4 separate regions of the Homo sapiens genome follow, and regions 1, 3 and 4 are each linked to region 2. Evidence: promoter capture Hi-C in human tissues and cell types (Jung and others, 2019). All regions are on one chromosome and are shown on one strand. Each heading gives the region's core, a stretch centred on a gene start or on the middle of the fragment in contact. The rest is flanking DNA. Distances are from core to core; before and after follow the strand shown. Region 1 overlaps LOC124905131 (a long non-coding RNA gene). Region 2 holds the start of PRR5-ARHGAP8 (PRR5-ARHGAP8 readthrough). Region 3 has its middle 9.2 kb from the start of KIAA0930. Region 4 overlaps PARVB (parvin beta).

Region 1 (3,510 bases), core at 523-3,022, 680 kb after region 2:
CGTGAAGACCAAGGGCACAGAGCTTTGTCCTCCAGGAGTTTGTGGTCAAGGAGAACGTGGGCACAGGACACAGTGGCCGTGTAGCGTGGCCAGCATGGAGGAGGGACAGGGACCATGTGGATGGGGTGGGGGAGAAGTGCTGTGGGCAGAGGAGGCTTGCAGGGAAGGGACATTTGACCTGGAACAAGGATCAAATGCCCTTTTCCTTTCAGTAAAGGAGGAGAAGACCCACCAGGCAGAAGAGACAGGGAGAGGACACTGGGGTGTCTTGGGGCTGCCAGCACAAAGTTCCATGAGCTGGAGGGCTCAGAACAACAGAAACGTCTTCTCTCACAGTTTGGAGAGAAATAACAAGGTCTACGGGAATTATGAGGCAGGCACGGTGGAGGAAAACCAATTGATAAATATCATCATCTCACAAGGGTCTTTGCAGATGATCAAGTGAAGATGAAGTCACCAGAGTGGGCTGTAATCCAAGATGACCGTGTCCTTGTAATACCCCTGTGTACTGGGGATTAGGATTTCAGCAGGAGGCCAGAAATCCAAATCAAGGTGTAGGCTAGGTTCATTTCCATTTGGAGGCTGCACGGGCAAATCTGTTCCCTGCATCTCTCCAGGCTCCTGGGGTTTGCCAGCAAATCTTCCATGTTCCTCGGCCTGTAGAAGCATTGCCCCGTCTCTGCCTCCGTCTCTACTAGGCCCTGTGTGTGTGTGTGTGTGTGTGTGTGTGTGTGTGTGTGTGTGTGTGTGTGTGTGTGTGAGTCTAGACTTTACAGGGACACAGTCATGTTGGATTAGAGCCCATCCTGGTGATTCATCTTCACCTCATCATCTGCAAAGACCCTGTGAGATGATGATATTTATGCATTGGTTTTCCTCCACCATGCCTGGCTCATAATTCCCATCACCCTTGTTATTTCCTCAGTGACTATAGCAATAAGCAGATCTTTTGTTACAATATTTGTTCTTTTTTCCTTGGTTCCTGAAGCAGTGTGGAAACAGCTTCAGAGCAATAAAGGGGAACGATAGTCCTGTGTTATCATGTTGGATCTTTGGAAGCAGGCTTCAGGTGTAGTTTCTCTCTCTTTCTGACCTTCTTTCTCCTTCCCTCCTTTCACCTGCTCCTTTTTCTCCCCAAGTCAGGCCATAGAAAATGAAAATATACTTGAATCTTCCCCCACCTTTCCATCTTGGAGCTGGCCGTGGAGAAATTCTCTGACCTGCCTTGTCTGACTGAGGGTCACGGGACCCCCATTTCAGGAGGAGTCCAGCCTCCCGCCCAGGAGGAAGAAATGCTATACAGACAGGCCTTGCGGGGCTTCACCACTCTGACTGATGGTGTTGAGTCATACTGTTTTTGTCCAATCACACTTCGACATGGTTGTCCAGCTTCAATTGTGCTTAGCCAATGAAGGCTCCATAAAAACCCAAAAGGGGGGCCAGGCGTGGTGGCTCACGTCTATAATCCCAGCAGTTTGGGAGGCCAAGGTGGGTGGATCGCTTGAGGTCAGGAGTTGGAGGAGTCAGCCTGGCCAACATGGTGAAACCCCGTCACTACTAAAAATACAAAAATTAGCCAGGTATGGTGGTGCATGTCTGTAATCCCAGCTACTTGGGAGGCTGAGGCAGGAGAATCGCTTGAACCCAGGAGGTGGAGGTTGCAGTGAGCCGAGATCACGCCACTGCACTCCAGCCTGGTCGACAGAGTGAGACTCAGTCTCAAAAAAAAAAAAGAAAGGACAGAGTTGGAGAAGCTTCCAAATAGCTAAACACATGGAGGTTCCTGAGGGTGGTGCACCTGGGGAGGGCAAGGAAGCTTAATGCCCCTCCTCCATCCTTGCCCTACCAGTCTCTTCCTCTGGTGTTCATCAGAAGCCTTTGTAACACCCTTTGTAATCATCCAGAAAATGTCAGTGTTGCCCTGAGTTTTGTGAGCCACTCCAGCTAATCAAACCTGAGGGGGGTAAGAATCTCAATTTATAGCCAGTCAGAAGCACAGGCAGAACTAGCTGGGGCTTGTGACTGGCATCAGAAGTGGTGGCAGGTGGCTGGATGCAATGGCTCATGCCTGAGAGCCCAACACTATGGGAGACTGAGGCCAGAGAATCACTTGAGGCTAAGAATTCGAGACCAGCCTGGGCAATATGGCAAGACCCCCTCTGTACAAAATAAAAAATTAGCTGGGTGTAATGGCATATGCCTGGGGTCCCAGCTACTCAGGAGGCTGAGCTAGGAGGATCACTTGAGCCCAGGAGGTCGAGGTTGCAGTGAGCCATGATCATGCCACTGTACTCCAGCCTGGGCAACAGAGCCAGACCCTGCCTCAAAAAAAAAAAAAAAAAAGTGGTGACTGTCTTGTGGGACTGAGCCCTCACCCTGTGGGATCTTGTGCTGTCTGCAGATGGACCATGCTGGAATTGAACTGGACTGGGGGACACCCAGCTGGCGCCGCTGCAGAACTGAGTGCCGACTTGCTGGCGGGGAGAAATCCTCAGCCCGTTCATCACAGGAGTCACAGGAGTGTTGACACTTGTGGTGTGAGAGAAGAGGAAAGGCAGTTTGATTTTTCCATACAACCCTACCTCCAAATAATGTCCCAGTCACAGTACTGGGGATTAGGATTTCAGCATCTTTTGGGAGTGCTATGTATTGGATATTTGACTCCAAATATCTAAACCCCATATTGAAATTCAATCCCGTGTTGGGAGTCGGGCCTGATGGGGGGTGTGTGGGTCCTGGGGAGGATCCCTCATGGTTTTGTGCCATCCTCATAGTAATGAGTGAGTTTGCACTCTGTTAGCTCCCTTGAGAGCTGGCCGTCCCCCGCACTTTCTTGCTTCCTCTCTTGCCCTGTAATCTCTGTGCATGTGGCTCCATTGCTCCTTTTGCCAGGAGAAGCAGCCTGCGGCCCTCACCCGTGCAGATGCTGTGCCATGCTGCTTGTGCAGCCTGCAGAGCCGTGAGCGACAAAACCTCTTTTCTTTATTAATTACCAGCTTCAGCCGGGCACGGTGGCTCATGCCTGCAATCCCAGCACTTTGAGAGGCCGAGGCCAGCAGTCCACCTGATGTCAGCAGTTTGAGGCTAGACTGGCCAACATGGTGAAACCCTGTCTCTACTAAAAATACAAAAATTATCTGGGTGTCATGATGCATGCCTGTAATCCCAGCTACTCGGGAGGCTGAGGCAGGAGAATCACCTGAACCCGGCAGGCGGAGGTTGCAGTTAGCCAAGATCATGCCATTGCACTCCAGCCTGGGCAACAGAGAAAGACTCCATCTCAAAAATAAAAAAATAAAAATAGGCCAGGCGTGGTGGCTCACGCCTGTAATCCCAGCACTTTGGGAGGCCGAGGCGGGCAGATCACCTGAGGTCACAAGTTCGAGACCAGCCTGGCCAACATGGTGGAACCCTGTCTCTACTAAAAATACAAAAATTAGCCAGGTATGGTGGCAGGCGCCTATAATCCCAGCTACTGGGGAGGCTGAGGCAGGAGAATCGCTTGAACCT
Region 2 (3,288 bases), core at 21-2,520:
TAACGTGTGTCCAAGTGACAGCCGGGTTCCCGGTGGCCAAGACCACAGCCGGTGGAGCATCTGGCAAGATTTTACTGCCAGGTGTGGGCGCGAGAGGGGCAACGTCCACAGCCTCCCCCGAACAGTGTCCACAGCCTCCCCCGAACAGTGTCCACTGCCTCCCGCGAACAGCCTGCCTCACTTTCTCCTGCCTCTCATTTTCCTAGGGAGCAGAGACGCTGGGGAGTTCCACTAAATAAACCGTCTCTTTTCCAGATCCCGGACTTGCTCCTCAAACAAAGCTGGGAGAAGGGGCTTCCCAGGCCCCTGCTTGTCTGGGAATGACCCCTGGAGGAGAGTCCTCTAAAGAATGCCTCGCAGCTGCCGCACCCCCTGCTGACAGCTGGAGGACAGGGGGCCTCTCAAGGGAAAGCCGAAGGGAGCTTAAAGAGACACAGGAAGCCTGCGCGACCCACCCACTGAGCCCCGAGGCTCCCGTGCTCAGCCGCAAAATGGGAAAAATACTTCCTGCTCCGTTAGCCTCCCAGGTTGTCACGAGCACCGCAGTGGAGACGTGGAAAGACCCCGGGTAGGAGGCGGGCACGCGGCTTCCCGGCCCACCCCGCCGCCCACCCGCCGGGCGCTTCTGGGCCAGCCCCGGGCGCTGGCGGGCCTCGCTCCCTTCCCTGGGTTCTGGAACCACGCTGCACTGAACTTTCCTCCAGGCCCGCACCACTCCGGCGGGGCAAGTTCTTTGCAAACTGTGAAGCGCCGCGCCGCCTTCGGCAGCGTTCCTGGCTCGGGGCGGCCCCTAGCCCGCGGACGGCTCAGGGGTCCCCTCCCCCGGCTCCAGGGCCTCCGGGTGGCCGGGAGGGCGCGGCCTTACCTGTTCCAGGTGGCGTTGGCGCAGGCCCGGCGCTGCTGCGTGCCCCGCTCGTCCGCGGCGGCGGCCGGCTCTCTCTTGCCCAGGTCACTGAGGCTGGGCGAACTCATGAACTTCAACCTGCGGAGAGTCCTCATGGTGACCCGGGCCGCCTGCGCCGCGCCCACGCGCGCCCCACGCCGCGCCCTGCGCCACGCCGCACCAAGGGCCCCGGGCCGGCGATGCGCCCTCTACGCGGAAACTCCGGCGAGAGCAGGAAGCCGAGCGGTCCTGCGGGGTCCCGCCCCGGCCCCGCGCCTCCGTCTCGGGTCCCGCGCCGGCCGCCCCGCCGGGTTAATCATTGCACGGAGAGGCTCAGCGTGGAGCGCCAGGCGCGCGGCCAGCACAGACCCGGCGCAAACGGAGGCCGGGGGCGGACCCGGGGGCGGGCCCAGGGGCGGGTCTCGGCGCCCCGGGGGGCGGGGCGGGGAAGGGGGCGGGGGCATCGCGGGCGGGGCGGGGCCTCAGGCGAGGGGGCGTGTGCAAGAGGCGGAGCCGGCGTCTCCGCGGCCGCAGCTGCCACGACGCCTCGCTGGGTCTGCCCTCTGAGGACGTGCTCACCCTCCTCCCCTCTTCCGAGGGCCCCACGTGCCCACAGGAAACCAACACGCACAGGACGCAGGGCCCAAGCCCAAGCGCCCGCCCCCCGCCCAGCACTGCGGTCGCGCCCACACGATGTCCTTCGACCCCGGCCCCGGAGGTCTCCCTCCACAGCCCTCCTCGCAAAGGCTGTGCCACAGAGGTGCCTCCGTACCCCTCACCTGAACACAGGCTCCCCCACCCAGTTCTCATGAGGACTTTGGGTAGAGGCCTTCAGTCCCCTCCAGGCACCTTGGCCCAAGAACCCACTCCACCCGGGCTCAGCCTAGACCCCCTTGGACAGGGACTTCAGCATTGCCTGGCTGCCTGGAGGATTTGCTGGAGTGAGGGCTTGAAGAAGTAGAGGGTTTGCTCCTTATCTCCCACCCCCAGGTCTCTTGGATGGTAAAACCAAGCAGTTTCCCAAGTCCCTGTGGTGGGGGCAGAGTGATCCCAGTGAAGGCAGGGCACAGCCGGTGCTTCCTGCCTGCTTCGCAGAGCACTTTTAGATGTCTGATTTCACATGAACTAACATGAACTACTTCCGTGAGGTAGAGATTATTCTTCTCCCCATTTTCCAGTTGAGGACATTGAGGCTCACAGAGTGAAATAACTTGCCCAACATTGTGCCAACATTGTGCAATCAACAAATGGTAGAGTTGGGCTTCACCACAGGGAGCGTCCAGCCCCTTGAACAGGGCCCTTCCCAGTCCCCAGCTTCTGGGATTCCCACAAGGCTCACCTGACCCCTCCATCAGATGGGGGGTGACAGCCACAGCTCCAGGAGCTGGGAGGGCCCCATATAAAATGTAAGAGAGAGGTGATGGCTCATGCCTGTAATCCCAGCACTTTGGGAGGCCGAGGTGGGAGGATCACCTGAGGTCAGGAGTTCAAGACCAGCCCGGCCAACATGGAGAAACCCCATCTCTATTAAAAATACAAAATTAGCTGGGCGTGGTGGTGCATGCCCGTAATCCCAGCTACTCAGGAGGCTGAGACAGGAGAATCGCTTGAACCTGGGAGGCAGAGGTTGCAGAGAGCTGAGATCTCGCCACTGCACTCCAGCCTGGGCAACAACAGCAAAACTCCGTCTCAAAAATCATCATCATCATAATAAAATAAAATAAAAAGTAAGAGAGCCTCATGAAGAGTCTTTGTTTAGTGCAAATCAACCAGTGTCTCCTGAGTACCTCCTGTGTTCCAGACATAAATACCATCGTCTTTGGGAGACAGAGACATAAACAGACAAACTTGCTCATCAGTAAAGCGGGATGGAACGGTTCATCTCACAGGCAGCTTGGGGCCCACAGGCAGCAACAGGTGCTTTATAAACTAACTGTCAAGTGCTGTACACGTTTTCTTTTCTTTTTGAGACAGAGTCTCACTTTTTGGCCCAGGTTGAATGCAGTGGCACCACTGTGGTCACTGCAGCCTCTACCTCCTGGGTTCAAGCAACCCTCCCACGTTAGCCTCCTGAATAGCTGGGACTACAAGGCATGTGCCACCATGCCTGGCTGATTTTTTGCGTGTGTGATGGCGTTTCGCTCTTGTCGCCTGTGGAGTGCAATGGCGCAATCATGGCTCACTGCTAACCTCTGCCTCCCAGGTTCAAGTGATTCTCCTGCCTCAATCTAGTGAGTAGCTGAGATTATAGGCACCTACCACCACGCCTGGCTGATTTTTTTATTTATTAGTAGAGATGGGGTTTCACCATGTTGGCCAGGCTGGTCTTAAACTCCTGACCTCAGGTGATCCTCCCACCTCGGCCTCCTAAAGTGCTGGGATTACAAGAATGAACCACTGTGCCC
Region 3 (3,514 bases), core at 43-2,542, 550 kb before region 2:
CACTCTGTTGCCCAGGCTGGAGTGCAGTGGAGCCACCTCGGTTCACTGCAACCTCCGCCTCCCAGGTTCAAGTGATTCTCCTGCCTCAGCCTCCTGAGTAGCTGGGACTACAGGTGTGCACCCCTACACCTGGCTAATTTTTGTATTTTTAGTAGAGACGGGGTTTCACTATGTTGGCCAGGCTGGTCTTGAACTCCTGACCTCAGGTGATCCACATGCCTCAGCCTCCCAAAGTGCTGGGATTATAAATGTGAGCCACTGTGCCCAGCCTCGGCTCATGTTTCTGAAGCACCATAAATACTCCTTGGTCATGACTCCCAGGATTGAAGGTCTATACAACAGCCTGGGGCTTCCAGATGTGCCCAAACTTTCCCATCCAGCCCTTATCCGTGGCTCCCATGATGCACCACTGCTCCATCGCCCACGTAGGAAAGGGCGGCACTGGGTGGGAACAGGTGTGGGCTCTTCACTAAGTAGGTGCTAAACACATCAATATAACTGAAGTGAGGCCAGATATACAAGTACAGTCACCGCCTTCTTCTCAGCGCTTACCACGGGCACAACCCCCTGGCTTCGTGGCCTTGAGTAAGCCACTCGGCATCTCCACTCCCTGCAAAATGTTGTCAAAAGGTGAGCCTCAATGTTCTCACCTATAAAATGGGGATGATAACAGTACAATCCGGGCCATGTGCAGTGGCTCACGCCTGTCATCCCAGCACTTTGGAGGTGGATGCAGGCAGATTGCTTGAGCCCAGGAGTTTGAGACCAGCCTGGGCAATATGGCGTGACCCTGTCTCTACTAAAAATACAAAAATCTGCCTGGTGTAGGGGTGTGAGCCCGTTGTCCCAGCTCCTCGGAGGGGTGCTGAGGTGGGAGGATCACTTGAGCCTGGGAGGCAGAGGTTGCAGTGAGCTGTGGACTGCACTCCAGCATGGGCGACAGAGTGAGACACTGTCTCAAAAACAAAAACAAGGCCGGGTGCGGTGGCTCACGCCTGTAATCCCAGCACTTTGGGAGGTGGGTGGGTCAGGAGATTGAGACCATCCTGGCTAACACGGTGAAACCCCATCTGTACTAAAAATACAAAAAATTAGCCGGGCGTGGTGGCACGCGCCTGTAGTCCCAGCTACTTGGGAGGCTGAGGCAGGAGAATCGCTTGAACCTGGGAGGCAGAGGTTGCAGTGAGCCAAGATTGCGCCACTGCACTCCAGCCTGGGCGACAGAGCGAGACGCCGTCTCTAACAAAAACAAAACCCAAAAATACCCAGTACAATCCTGCAGTTAATTTAGGGGGATTAAAGGGGGATTAAAGAGACCTCGGCATACCACTGAGTGTTATTAAGAAGTGCTGTCTTTTCCCTTCTCTGGAGACGCTATCCCTCCAAGTGAGCAATGAGTTGTTAATTTTTCTTCTTTCTTTCTTTTTTTTTTTTAAGATGGAGTTTCACTCTTGTTGCCCAGGTTGGAGTGCAATGGCGCCATCTTGGCTCACTGCAACCTCTGCCTTCCAGGTTCAGGTGATTCCCATGCTTCAGCCTCCCAAGTAGCTGCGATTACAAGCGCCCACCACCATGCCTGGATAATTTTTGTATTTTTAGTAGTGACAGGGTTTCACCATGTTGGCCAGGCTGGTCTTGAACTCCTGACCTCAGGTGATCCACTCCCCCTCAGCCTCCCAAAGAGCTGGGATTACAGGCGTGAGTCACTGCACCTGGCCTAATTTTCTTCTTTCATCAATAGTTACCTTCCACGTGTGGGCCCCACCATCCATGTGGGCTGGAGGACAGAGCCATTTCCAGGCATTTGTTGGCCTGAGTCACTCTAGCTTTCAGAGGCTCAGCCTATATCATCTGCAACATGAATGCACCCTTATCAAAATGTTTCCCCTGAAAAATTCTGAAAAGATTTCAGGCCAGGCACAGCGGCTCATGCCTGTAATCCCAGCACTTTGGGAGGCCAAGGCGGGTGGATCACAAGGTCAGGAGATCGAGACCATCCTGACTAACACAGTGAAACCCAGTCTCTACTAAAAATACAAAAAAAAAAAAAAAAAAAAAATACCCGGGTGTGTTGGCGGGCGCCTGTAATCTACTAGGGAGGCTGAGGAAGGAGAATGGCGTGAACCTGGGAGGCGGAGCTTGCAGTGAGCTGAGATAGCGCCACTGCACTCCAGCCTGGGTGACAGAGTGAGACTCCGTCTCAAAAAAAAAAAAAAAATCTGAAAAGATTTCTATAATTTTGCCTTTGAATTTTCTTGGCTACGTGACTCTGCCTTTGCTAATCTTGGAGAAGGTACATAACCTCTGTATGCCTCGGTTTCCTCATGCATAAAACAGGAATAATGATGGCTCTTAAGTCATAGAATTCAGTGTGTTGACATATGTAAATTCATAACACCACGCCCAGCAGAGGTAAGTCCTGAATACACGTTTGCCAAATAAACTAAAATACCAGTAACTTTCAGTTTCTGATTTCTCGTCGACCATCTGGAACTCTCAGAATTCTTGCTACGTGAGAAAATCTAACCCACAAAGAGTTTTCAAATGTAGTAAAACTTTTATAAATACCAAATCGAAAAGATGACATAATCTTCCATCTTGTAGGTATTTAATGAAATGTCTATTAATTTTAATTTTGCCATTTTATTTTTGCATTTTACAGTAGTACACAATGTTAATTATTAACACAGTGTTCATCGCCCCTCAAAATTCTGTGAGCTCCAGCCCTGTGAGCCTAACCAATAACCTAGCATCAGCAGGGGCAGAGGTCACACAGATGCCTCCAAGGGGGCTGATTCTGAGATGACCAAATGGAGGCAATGACCAGACCTATTGCCCAGTCCCACCTGGCTCTGCTCACCAAAGCTTTGGGGGTGGGGAGATGCCAGGGAGCTGTGCTAGCAGAAGTCAAAAGGTTCTGTCCAGAGACAGGTAGGTCAGGTTCACCTGGATCACAGCCATGACCAGGCAGGAGGCAGAGGGTGCCAAGGCTGTGTGTTCATGGACAAGGGGAACATCTTCTGAACTGGAGCCTCAGGGGGCAGGAAAAGGGGAGCAGGCTCTCCAGCTCTCCCTGCCCTGGCCCACCCTACCTGTTCTCCCATGATGTTGGGGCTGGAAAGGCCCAAGGGGATATCTAGTTTAGCCTCCTTCTCATTGACAGATGGAGCAGGGCGCTGGAGCAGAAGGGATCTGCCTGTTTCAGGCTGCGCTGGTTTCAGGTGCCCCTGCCCTGGAGCACCCTGCATCTCCACTCCACTTCCCAGCAATGAAGCTGTCCTGTGTTGCATGACATAGGTTTTCTTCCTTCAAAACAGCATTCCAGGGCTGCGCGCGGTGGCTCATGCCTATAATTAATCCCAGCACTTTGGGAGACGGAGGTGGGTGGATCACTTGAGGTCAGGAGTTCGATACCAGCCTGGCCAACATGGTGAAACCCCGTCTCTACTAAAAACACACACAAATTAGCCGAGTGTGGTGGCACACGTCTGTAATCCCAGCTACTTGGGAGGCT
Region 4 (3,252 bases), core at 732-3,231, 640 kb after region 2:
TGGAGGAAGTCATCTCCCAACTCATCTGTACCAGGAGCAGCTGCCTGATCCCAAGGGGCACAGACCATGCCCTCTGTGAGTGTGGACCCCCAGCACCGAGCAGGCCACGAGGAGTGAGTGAACTGGACAACCACACATACTCTGGGGATCACTGTGCCCCGGAAATCACTCCCCAACCCCACTAACCCCACACCCTGCCTGTCAGGCACCCTCTAAACCACGACGCTGAGGACGGAGACCACAGGACACACCGCAAGTGCTTGTAAAATAATAAGAAATATTCATATTGGGCCAGGCGCGGTGGCTCACGCCTGTAATCCCAGTACTTTGGGAGGCCAAGACAGGTGGATCACCTGAGGTCAGGAGTTTGAGACCAGCCTGGCCAACATAGTGAAACCCCGTCTCTAATAAAAATACAAAAATTAGCCCAGCATGATGGTGCACACCTGTAGTCCCAGCTACTCAGGAGGCTGAGGCAGGAGAATCACTTGAACCCGGGAGGCGGAGGTTGCAGTAAGCTGAGATCACACCACTGCACTCCAGCCTGGGTGACAGACCGAGACTCCATCTCAAAAAAAAAAAAAGAAAAGAAAAGAAATATTCATATTGGTCTCTGCCACCAGTCCCTGGCACACAGATCCTAAGAACCTTGTAATTTCCAGGTGCCAGGACAATCTTTTGTTCTAATATTTAGTCTTTGACCCTGGTTCCTGACACAAAGTTCCTAATCCCTTGGAATTTCCAGGGAGATAAAAGGATGTTTTATTCTAATGAGGTGACTCTTGGTGGCTCCTGGGTGGGGGCTGAGCACCAGAAAGACCCAGACACAATTAGAAGCCTGGAGCTTTCAGCTCCACACCCCCCAACCCCACCCTCCAGAAAGGGGAGAGGGGCTGGAGATTGAACTAATAACCAGACATGCCTACATGATGAAGCCTCCGTAAAAATCCCTGAACTACAGGGTGCAGAGAGCTTCCGGGTGGGTAAACACATCCAGGTGCCAGGAGGGTGGCACACCCCAACTCCAGGGCAACAGAAGCTCCTGTGCTGGGGGCCCTCCCAGGCCTCACCCTGTGTGCCTCCTCCTGTTCTGCTCACCTGCACCCTTTATCATCTCCTTTATAATAGACCAGGGAGCACAAATGCAGTGTTTCCCTGAGTTCTTTTTTTTTTTTTTCCAGACAGGGTTTTGCTCTTGTTGCTCAGGCTGGAGTGCAGTGGTGCGATCTCAGCTCACTGCAATCACCACCTCCCAGGTTCAAGCAATTCTCCTGCCTCAGTCTCCCGAGTAGCTGGGATTACAGTGCCCACCACCATGCCCAACCAATTTTTGTATTTTTAGTAGAGATGGGGTTTCACTATGTTGGCCCGGTTGGTCTCGAACTCCTGACCTCAAGCAATCCACCTGCCTTGGCCTCCCAAAGTGCTGGGGTTACAGGCTTGAGCCACCGTGCCTGGCCCATTTCCAAGTTCTGAGTCCCAGCAAATTAATCAAAACCGAGGAAGCAGTCGTGGGGACCCTGATTTGGGGTGCAGTCTCGTGGGGCTGAGCCCTCACCTGTGGGGTCTGAGGCTCTCTCCAGGTCGATGGTGTCAGAATTGAACTGAACTGCAGGACACCCAGCTGGTGTCTGCTGGAGAACTGCCAGGTGCGGCAGGAAGCATCCCTGCACCTCTGGTGTCAGAAGTCTTACCCTGGGCAGTATGTGAGCAGAGGGAAGGAACAGTTTGCAGGTTCCTCCTACAGTGCTAAACAAATAATTGTCAAAGTACAGTCAATCGCCTTGATTCATGGATTCTGTATGTGTAAATGTGTCTACTGGCTAAAATTTGTAAGCTCAGAATCAATACTCTTGGCCTACATTCATTCACAGACCTGCACACAGAAGCAAAGAATCTGACTGGGTGTGGTGGCTCACACCTGTAATCCCAGCACTTCGGGAGGCCAAAGCGGGTGGATCGCCTGAGGTCAGGAGTTCGAGACCAGCCTGACCAATATGGTGAAACCCCGTCTCTACTAAAGATACAAAAATTAGCTGGGTGTGGTAGTGCGCACCTATAGTCTCAGCTACTCGGGAGGCTGAGGCTGGAGAATTGCTTGAACCCAGGAGGCAGAGGTTGCAGTGAGCCGAGATTGCACCACTGCACTCCAGCCTGGGTGACGCAGTGAGACTCCACTCAAAAAAAAAAGAATCTGAGTTGCCGGATGTGTCCCCACCTGAGGTCAAACACGGGGCGCTCTGCCTTCTTGTCTGAGGTCTCACATCATAAACAAGTGTCCATTTCATGGTCTATTTAATGCCATGTTTTTCACATTTTTCTGCTATTTGTTGGTGACTTCACTGTTTTGGTTTGTTTTGTTTTGTTTTGTTTTGTTTTGTTTTTGAGATGAAGTCTTGCTCTGATGCCCAGGCTGGAGTACAGTGACGTGACTTCGGCTCACTGCAACCTCTGCCTCCTGGGTTCAAGCAATTCTCCAGCCTCAGCCTCCTGAATAGGTGGGATTACAGAAGCACACCACCATGCCCAGCTAATTTTTTTGTACTTTTAGTAGAGACTGGGCTTCCCCATGTTAGCTAGGCTGGTCTCGAACTCCTGACCTCAGGTGATCTGCCTGCCTCGGCCTCCCAAAGTGCTGGGATTACAGGCATGAGTCACCGTGCCCAGCCAACTTTGCTGTTTAAAATGGGTCCCCACGCGTGGCGAGGGGTACTCCTAGTGTTCCCAAGTGCAAGAAGGCTGAGGTATGCCTTGCAGAGAACGCACAGGTCAGAGAAGCTTCATTCAGGCAGCACTTATACTGCTGTTGGCCGTGAGCTCAATGTTAATCAATCAACAATACATTTTAAATAACGTATCTTTAAAAAGAAACATATATAAGAAAAAGTTATGTATGGATCTGTTGCTGAAAATGTTGTGACCAGAGGCTCGCAGGAACCGAGCGCTGTACTGCCCTAGGAGTGATGGCTCAGTATTGGCTAACTTGGGGTTTGTGGCAACTTTATAGATCAAAACCACCATGAATAATGAGAACTGGCTGAGTTTAAGAAGGAATGAACTAAACCCAGCACCCCACTCCAGCCGGCTGATTAGACCTCTTCCCATCCTGCTTGTTTTCCCTTCTTGAGCAACATCAAACTATGAGACCTCTCCTTCGCCTGTGCCCAAAGAACCCGGGTGTATTCCACCTTTTGTCCAGATATTAATGCCGAATGTAGTTGGGTTACTAGATGACATTTACCCAGTTAAGTC

The links. Contacts are between HindIII fragments. The study calls those that stand out against the background at their distance.
Region 1: a fragment that was not itself captured here is called in contact with the fragment with the promoter of PRR5-ARHGAP8 in region 2 in 3 of the 25 tissues and cell types used here (IMR-90 fibroblasts, mesenchymal stem cells and spleen).
Region 3: a fragment that was not itself captured here is called in contact with the fragment with the promoter of PRR5-ARHGAP8 in region 2 in 1 of the 25 tissues and cell types used here (spleen).
Region 4: a contact is called between a fragment that was not itself captured here and the fragment with the promoter of PRR5-ARHGAP8 in region 2, in 2 of the 25 tissues and cell types used here (IMR-90 fibroblasts and lymphoblastoid cells).

The regions. Positions count from the first base shown.
Region 1 is chr22:44,019,010-44,022,519 of GRCh38, reverse strand. It overlaps LOC124905131 (a long non-coding RNA gene), which reads left to right. Exons shown (of 2, transcript XR_007068125.1): 1 at 1-1,069; 2 at 2,402-3,510. It also overlaps a transcript of PARVB not described here. Among named protein-coding and RNA genes, the nearest start is that of PARVB, 3.5 kb to the left of the region's middle. The HindIII fragment of the contact is 3,129 bases long and covers 208-3,336 here.
Region 2 is chr22:44,700,186-44,703,473 of GRCh38, reverse strand. PRR5-ARHGAP8 (PRR5-ARHGAP8 readthrough) reads right to left here and starts at 1,270. Exons shown (of 15, transcript NM_181334.6): 1 at 866-1,270. The coding sequence starts at 999. It overlaps PRR5 (proline rich 5), which reads right to left and starts at 1,270. Exons shown (of 8, transcript NM_181333.4): 1 at 866-1,270. The coding sequence starts at 999. RefSeq lists a silencer at 987-1,396. The HindIII fragment of the contact is 17,168 bases long and covers 1-3,288 here.
Region 3 is chr22:45,248,353-45,251,866 of GRCh38, reverse strand. No RefSeq gene overlaps it. Among named protein-coding and RNA genes, the nearest start is that of KIAA0930, 9.2 kb to the right of the region's middle. RefSeq lists an enhancer at 2,186-2,235. The HindIII fragment of the contact is 6,006 bases long and covers 1-3,514 here.
Region 4 is chr22:44,060,564-44,063,815 of GRCh38, reverse strand. The region is part of intron 1 of PARVB (parvin beta); the gene reads right to left. Among named protein-coding and RNA genes, the nearest start is that of PARVB, 38 kb to the right of the region's middle. The HindIII fragment of the contact is 5,255 bases long and covers 1-3,252 here.